Regions from separate parts of the Homo sapiens genome. Here region 2 is linked to region 1. Evidence: promoter capture Hi-C in human tissues and cell types (Jung and others, 2019). All regions are on one chromosome and are shown on one strand. Each heading gives the region's core, a stretch centred on a gene start or on the middle of the fragment in contact. The rest is flanking DNA. Distances are from core to core; before and after follow the strand shown. Region 1 holds the start of NBL1 (NBL1, DAN family BMP antagonist). Region 2 overlaps CAPZB (capping actin protein of muscle Z-line subunit beta).

Region 1 (3,819 bases), core at 11-2,510:
CTTCCCCGCCAGCGCCCGGTCTTTGGCCTCCAGCCCTGACCTCTGTTTTCCTGGGGTGCCCCTAGTTACAGGCTGGTGGCGTCCAGCTTGGGGAGCGAGGGCCTCCGAAAGCCTGGAAGTGTGGCTTTCTCCCTTGATGCCCGCCAACCTCCGGCCACGCCAAGGCAGGCGGCTGCCCCCTTTGCCGCCGCTTGTAAACGATCAGAATCGCCCCGCCCTGGGAGCGGGCCGGGCAGGTGGCCCGCAGCAGGGCCTGTCGTCCAGCCGGCCTCGCGGGGGTGGAATTCTTAAGAAAACTGAGCCCCCGGAAAGGCTGGCTCTCCCTGCCCCAGACTCAATTCCAGGGAGATGACCCGGGCCAGGCCTCGGGGCCGGCGGGAGGCAGGGGGAGGGTTTGCCGCACCCGGTCTAGGAAACTATTCGTGAACCCCGCTGGGGGAAGGCGAGCCTCCGACACTGGGGGATTGTCTGGATCGGAGGGCGGGGGATCAGGGAGAGGCGCAGACACAGGGCGAGACCCCCACAGAGGGCAGCGCAGAGACAGAGAGAGGGAGAGAAAAGCCAGAGGCAGAGACACAAACGCGGGCAGCCGAACACGGAGGCAGGCGGGGAACGGAAAGAGACGGGCAGACCAGGGGAAAGTGAGCGGCGGAAACGGAGCGACGGAGAGACAGACACACGGACGTGGGGACCGAAGCAGAGGGGGCCGCGGGAGGCGGAAACGTCCAGAGCCGAGAGGCGCGGCGCGGCGAGGCCCGGGCACGGCCGGGGGACATGCGAGCCCGGCCCGCCCGGCCACGCATCTCCCTCCCTCGCTCCCTCTCTCCCCCGGCCGCGGAAACTCCGATCCAGAAACGGAACCCTGGGGCGAGTCTGGGGACGGGCTCCGGACGCGGCGGTGCCCCCCGGCCACCCCGTGCCGCGCCCACGTCCCCAGCGCCGGCGTCCGGAGGCGCCCGCCAGGTCCCCCAGGGCTCCTGAGCTCGGCGGCGGCGCCTCCACCCGGTGCCCGCGGCCGCCGGACGCGCCGGGGGACGCAGCTCCGGGCTGGGGGCGCGGCACTGCCCCCGCGGCCGAAGCCTCTGGAAGCCGGGCGCCCGCGTGCCGACCCGGGCGGGACTTACCGCGCGCGCCCGCCGGTCCTGCGGAGCTGGGTGCGGGGGTCGCGGGCCCGGGCGCCCCAGGAGGCTCGGCGAGGCGGCCGGCAGGGCGGGGGGCGGCCCCGCGACGCTCGGCTGGGCTGCGCTGCGCGCTGTCTGCGGCCCCGGGCGGGCGCGCGGCGCGGGGGAGCGGCTCCGACGTCAGGGTGGCTCCCTCCAAACAGGGCGCGAGGGCGGGGGCAGCGGGGAGGGCCGCGCGCAGAAAGAGCGGGCGGGCGCGCGCGGCCTCTCCCTCCGGGTGCGCAGGAGGGGGCGCCGCGGCGGCAGGGGCCCCGGGCCCTCTCCTGGCCCGCCCGCCCCGGGCTGAGCTTCGGCGCGCTCCGACGGCGTGGTGGGGCGGCCGGGACGCCTGGCCGGCGCCCGAGAGGCAGGGCAGCCCAGCCGGGCGCCCTGGCCCGTTCTTAAGCGCCCTCCCCGGGTTTCTCTGCGCTTCCACTCTCTCCGCCCGACTTTTACCGAGCCTGGGCCGTCAGGCCGTGCCAGGCCTCGGGGTGACAAAGATGGATGTGTCCTTTTTGTGGGCACCGGGCATTGCAGACTTGCCCCGAGAGTGGGGCGCCCCAGCCCGCCGCGTCCCGGCACCAGGAGTCCCCAGTTCTGCGGTGCACCTCATCCCGTCCGCTCCGGCATGCGACCCGGTTCAAGTCCGTGCTGTTGGTAGCCTGGGTTGCTCAGCCTTGCCTAGTGTTATCCTAGTGTCGCTCTCGGCCCCACGCCCTTGGCTTAAGCATCCCGAAAAGCCCCAGGGACTTATTAGGAACTAAAAAGCCAGCAAATGAACTCACTTCTCTGACTCCTGGGAAGAGTGGAGCTCCTGGCCCCAGCTTCCAGCCTCACCTCGGGGGTTCCTATCTAATCAGTGGGCACTTGGGTGGATTGCGGCCGTACCTTCTCTATTCTGTGTGCTTAACAACGGGGTGAGAAAATAACTTTGCTTCTGGAAAGTGGTGGCCCAGGGACACCACTGGGACACGATTGTAGGACTTGGGGATTTTGCTTTACAGCATAGTTACCTGTGTCCATGTGTTTTACCTAGCTTGGCTGGAAACTTCCAGATAGACACAGCCCTGCTTGTCTGACTCATGAGGTTGCCGGGCATCCTGGGTGGCTCCTAGTGGCCTGCTGGGAACTCCCTGGTGTACTCCAGCCTACTCGCACCCTCCACACCCAGCCTGCATCTGCGCCTCCTAGCTGTTGCCTGCGCCCTTCCCTCTGCCCGGAATTCCCTTCCCCTCCTTTCATCTCTGGCAAACATTCTTCCAGCTCCAGATTGGAAAGCCTTCCCAAGACCCTTTGGGAGCATCTCCCTCCTCCAGTGTGATCCTGGAGCACAGGATGAGAACTTCTGTTCATGTCAATTTCCCTCTAGAATAACTGTGTACATCTCTTGGGCAAACATTCTTCCAGCTCCAGATTGGAAAGCCTTCCCAAGACCCTCTGGGAGCATCTCCCTCCTCCAGTGTGATCCTGGAGCACAGGATGAGAACTTCTGTTCATGTCAATTTCCCTCTAGAATAGCTGTGTACATCTCTTTCCTCCATTAGACCTTGAGGGCAGGAATCGTGTTTATTTCAGTGTCTCCATTGCTTATGGGCAGGCCAGGTGAGATGTACAATGTATTTGGTTGAATGAAGTTGTTGTTGTTGTTGTTGTTGTTGTTATTATTATTATTATTAGAGACAGAATTTTGCTCTTGTTGCCCTGGCTGAAATGCAATGGCGTGATCTCGGCTCACTGCAACCTCTGCCTCCCAGGTTCCAGCAATTCTCAGCCTCCCGAGTAGCTGGGATTACAGACGCCCACCACCACGCCCAGCTAGTTTTTGTATTTTTAGTAGAGATGGGGTTTTGCCATGTTGCCCAGGCTGGTCTCCAACTCCTGGCCTCAAGTGATCCTCCCGCCTCAGCCTCCCAAAGTGTTGGGATTATAGGCATGAACCACCACGCCCAGCGAATAAAGTAATTATTATCCCCCATTAATGTAGCACAGATAGGTCTTCCCTTAATGGTAACTATGACCGTTATAATAGTTCACACATATTGAGCACCTTACCATGTGCCTCATCCCATTGCAAGCTGTTGCCACTCTCACAATAAACCTATGAGGTAAGTATTGTCTCTGTTTTAAAAGTGCCAGGCGCAGTGGCTCATGCTTGTAATCCCAGCACTTTGGGAGGCCAAGGCAGGAGGATCACTTGAGGTCAGGAGTTCGAGACCAGCCTGGCCAATATGGCGAAACCCTCTCTCTACTAAAAATACAAAAATCAGCCAGGTGTGGTGGCGTGTGCCTGTAGTCCCAGCTACTCGGGAGGCTGAGGCAGGAGAATCACTTGAACCTGAGAGGCGGAGGTTGCAGTGAGCCGAGATCGCACCACTGCACTCCAGCCTGGGAGGCAGAGTGAGACTCCATCTCAAATAAATAAATAAATAAACAAACAAACAAATAAAATAATAAAAGTGAAAAAAATCCCGAGGCTGGAGGATCACTTGATCCCAGGAGTTTGAGGCTGCAGTGAGCTATGATTGTGCCACTGTACTCCAGCCTGGACAACATTGCAGAAGGCTAATTGTGGAACCTAATGAGCTTGTCACTCCAGCAAGGCCTTGTCTCAAAAAAAAAAAAAAAAAGTGAAAAAAGGAACGTCAAGAGAAAGGTTAAG
Region 2 (3,633 bases), core at 418-2,917, 240 kb after region 1:
GCCAACCAAATTCTAGAGGCTTTGTGTACAGGAGAGGGGGTGTGAGCAGCGCTTGTGAAGCTCCAGACTCTCGGGTCCTAATGGGCCCATTGCCTTTTATGTAATTGAAACCTTCAGGCGAGCTCTCGAATTGATGTTCCAGATGGTGGCGGCGGGAGTGCTGTCAGATGGACGCTTTGGAGGGATCATCTGACAGCCGGCCCCTCCGAAAAGAGATTTGGAGCCAAATGCAGAAGAGATTTAATGATCGTTAATCTCCCTCTCCCTCTTTCTGGAATATATTGGGACTCTTAATTACTATTGACTGGAAGCTAAAACAACACTCCTAGTTCAGAACAAAACTCTTCAGGAGATTTGCCCCAGGCTGAAAGGATTATCCTTCATACAAGGGGATTTTTTTTTTTTTTTTTTTTTTTTGCCTCTTTCTAGCTATGTGTTGAACATCAGTTGGGAGTAGAGGAGATATGTACATCAGGTGTTTTAAAGAGGCTTAATACTTCTTCGCCCGCATTGTTTTCCTGTCTCATTGACCTTCCTAGTCCCAAACGCTGCCTGTAGGGGCAGCCAAATCTCCACGTTTTATCTAACGCACTGAAAGCACTGCTGTGTGCTGTAACTGTACTCTTAGCACTGGAGGGCCCTCTGGCTTCCGAGCACCTGCGGGATGCCATGATGCTCACCTCTATCCCCAGACCCTAACACAGTGCCTGGCCACATGTCGATATGGCCACAAATAAATATGAGATAATGAACCAAAAACCCTGCTATCCCCAAATTCTGAGGGGAGTCCACATTAGACATTCTAGGCTGTGTGATCTGAGACCCAGAGATGAGAAGGGACGGATGCCTCTTGGAGCTGAGCTATGACTCAGGAGACCTCAGCCCCTGGGACTCAAGGGCTGGTGGTCCCGGCAGGTGGCAGTATATGGACAGAGTCTTTAAGGTCACGGAGTCATGAGTTAGCTGGGGCTGGGAGCATGCATCCTGAATATCTAGGTGACCCTCGGTAAGCTACCAGACTCCAGGCCTCAGTTTCCTCATCTGTGTAATGGAGAGAATTCTGGATTTGCCTCACTCTAAAAGAGGACAATTGTGAATATTAAAGGAAGTCATGTAGGGAAAATACTTGGTGCAAATCATCCAAAGAAGGTGGTGGAATCCCTGACAGGAGCGGCTGGAATCCACTGCTTTCCCATGATTGCTGAGCTGTCCTTTTAAGGAGGAGGGTGCGTGCCCCTTGTCAAAAGCAGCCTGCGTTTCCCTGTTTGGCCAGATAGGTGGGTGAATGCTGCTTGATCGGGCTCTGAAATGTCCTGCCTTCTTCCAGGTGGGAGAGGGACTGTGAGGTGAGCTCAGATCTTGCAATGACAAGCGAGCATTTTTCCCATTACCTCTTTTTTTTTTTTTTTTTTTTTAACATGGAGTTTTGCTCTGTCACCCAGGCTGGAGTACAGTGGCGTGATCTCGTCTCACTGCAGCCTCCACCTCCCGAGTTCAAGTGATTCTCCAGCCTCAGCGTCTGGAATAGCTGGAACTACTGGCCTGTACCACCGTGCCTGGCTAAGTTTTGTATTTTTAGTAGAGATGCGGTTTTACCAATTTGGCCAGGCTGGTTTCAAACTCCTGACCTCAAGTGATCTGCCTGCCTCGGCCTCCCAAAGTGCTGAGATTACAGGCATGAGCCACTGCGCCCAGCCATATTTTTTTTTTTTTTTTTTTTTTTTTTGAGATGGAGTCTCAGTCTGTCTCCCAGGCTGGAGTGCAGTTGTACGATCTTGGCTCACTGCAACTTCTGCCTGCCCAATTCAAGCGATTCTCCTGCTTCAGCCTCCCGAGTAGCTGGGACTACAGGTGTGTACCACTATAGCCAGCTAATTTTTGTATATTTAGTAGAGACGAGATTTCACCATGTTGGCCAGGCTAGTCTCAAACTCCCGACCTCAAGTGATGCCACCGTGCCCGGCCTACTACTGTTACCTCTTGTACTTCAACCTCTTGAGTCTTGATGCTGCAGGCGTTAAGTAGGGCATGTGACAGGGAGGAACTGCGGCTGGAGTCCAGGAGGGAGGCAGGCAGAAGGGGCACTGGGTGCAGCTCAGGCTGCTGAAGGCCAGTGGAGATGTAGTTCCACCTGCCCAAAGCGGGGTCACTTTTTTACAGAGTGCCATCCACCTTATCCAGCCTGTTGGGTGAAGGTATGTCCCAATCCTCATTTTAGAGCAGTTCAATGAATGTTTATTGCTACTGCTCCTCCCTGCATTACTGGAGTGTTATAATAGCCTGTAGACAGGCCTTCCTGCCTGTCATCCCCTGCCTGCTCTGCATACAGAGTAGTCTTGCCAAAATGCACTTCGGATAATGTCCCTTAATGACTCCACATTGTCGGGATCAAGCCCGGAGAACACATCTAGGTGGAAGAGCTCTTGATCTGGCCCTGCCCCTTCCTCCTGTCTCCTTGTCTTGCACACTCCCAGGCCTGTGCCCTGTCTTGTTGCATCTTTGTACATGCCGTTTCCTTGACTGGGACACATGTCCACACCAACTCTGCTCCCTCTAACTGCTCATCTTCCCATCTCCGCTGGAGCCTCACTTCCCTCACCCTGCCCCCCAGCATGCCCCTTGCTTCTCCTGTCTCTTGGACTTGCTCCATCCTAGGAGCTTTGGCTCTTGGAGGGCAGGGATCTTTTCTTTTGTTCACCTTTGTATCCCCACTGTCAAGCCTGAAGCGGACATTCAGTGAGTGCATGCCTACTTGAGCCCCCATGAATGCAAGGCCCTGCCTAAGCTGAAGCACCAGGGTCAGAGTGACAACAGAATAGTTGTGTCTTTAAAGAGCTCATAGCCACGGTGGGAGCCAGATAACCCAGGATGGATAGAATGCAAGGCTTCTTTTTTTTTGTTTTGTTTTAGAGATGGAGTTTTGTTCTTGTTGCCCAGGCTGGAGTGTGATGGCACAATCTTGGCTCACTGCAACCTCTGCCTCCCTGGTTCAAGCAATTCTCCTGCCTCAGCCTCCCAAGTAGCTGGGATTACAGGTGCCTGCCACCACCCCCAGCTAATTTTTTGTATTTTTAGTAGAGATGGAGTTTCACCATGTTGGCCATGCTGGTCTCGAACTCCTGACCTCAGGTGATCTACCCGCCTCGGCCTTCCAAAGTGCTGGGATTACAGAGGTGAGCCACCGCTCCCAGCCAGAATGCAAGGCTTCTGATGTGAGGAACATGGGCACTGCAGAGCACCACAGAGGACACCGTGGCCCACCCTTGGCAGGCAAATCCCAGGGAAAGCTTAGAGTGGGCAGAGCCTGAGATACAGCTGGTGGGTGGTGGGAAGGTACTAGCTGGGCAGGGACTGAGCAGGAGCAGCTGGGTTTCTGCCTGATTAGATAGAGCGTGTGAATTGGTGTCTAGTGAGCTTTGAGTTTTGATTCAGGCCACATGGGTCCCTTACCAGAAAGCAGGTGATGGGCGCACACTCTGGTTTTGCTGAGGATCAGCTGTTAGCTCCCACTCAGACTTTCTAGATGGGTAAGGGACAGAGATCAGCAGGTTCCCTGCAATTTTAAGATCGTAACTGAGAAATGTGCCCTTGTAAGCCTGTTGATCCAAGAGCCTGCCTGCCTCTAGAAAAGCC

Evidence for each region. The method cuts DNA at HindIII sites, captures the fragments that hold promoters and counts their contacts. A contact is called where the count stands out against the background at its distance.
Region 2: a contact is called between a fragment that was not itself captured here and the fragment with the promoter of NBL1 in region 1, in 7 of the 25 tissues and cell types used here (H1 embryonic stem cells, IMR-90 fibroblasts, heart left ventricle and 4 more).

The regions. Positions count from the first base shown.
Region 1 is chr1:19,641,752-19,645,570 of GRCh38, reverse strand. NBL1 (NBL1, DAN family BMP antagonist) reads right to left here and starts at 1,260. Exons shown (of 4, transcript NM_005380.8): 1 at 1,125-1,260. The region is part of intron 1 of MICOS10-NBL1 (MICOS10-NBL1 readthrough); the gene reads right to left. RefSeq lists a silencer at 1,175-1,514 and an enhancer at 1,413-2,248. The HindIII fragment of the contact is 7,978 bases long and covers 281-3,819 here.
Region 2 is chr1:19,402,326-19,405,958 of GRCh38, reverse strand. All of the region lies in intron 2 of CAPZB (capping actin protein of muscle Z-line subunit beta), which reads left to right. Among named protein-coding and RNA genes, the nearest start is that of CAPZB, 81 kb to the left of the region's middle. RefSeq lists an enhancer at 2,743-3,420. The HindIII fragment of the contact is 4,541 bases long and covers 1-3,633 here.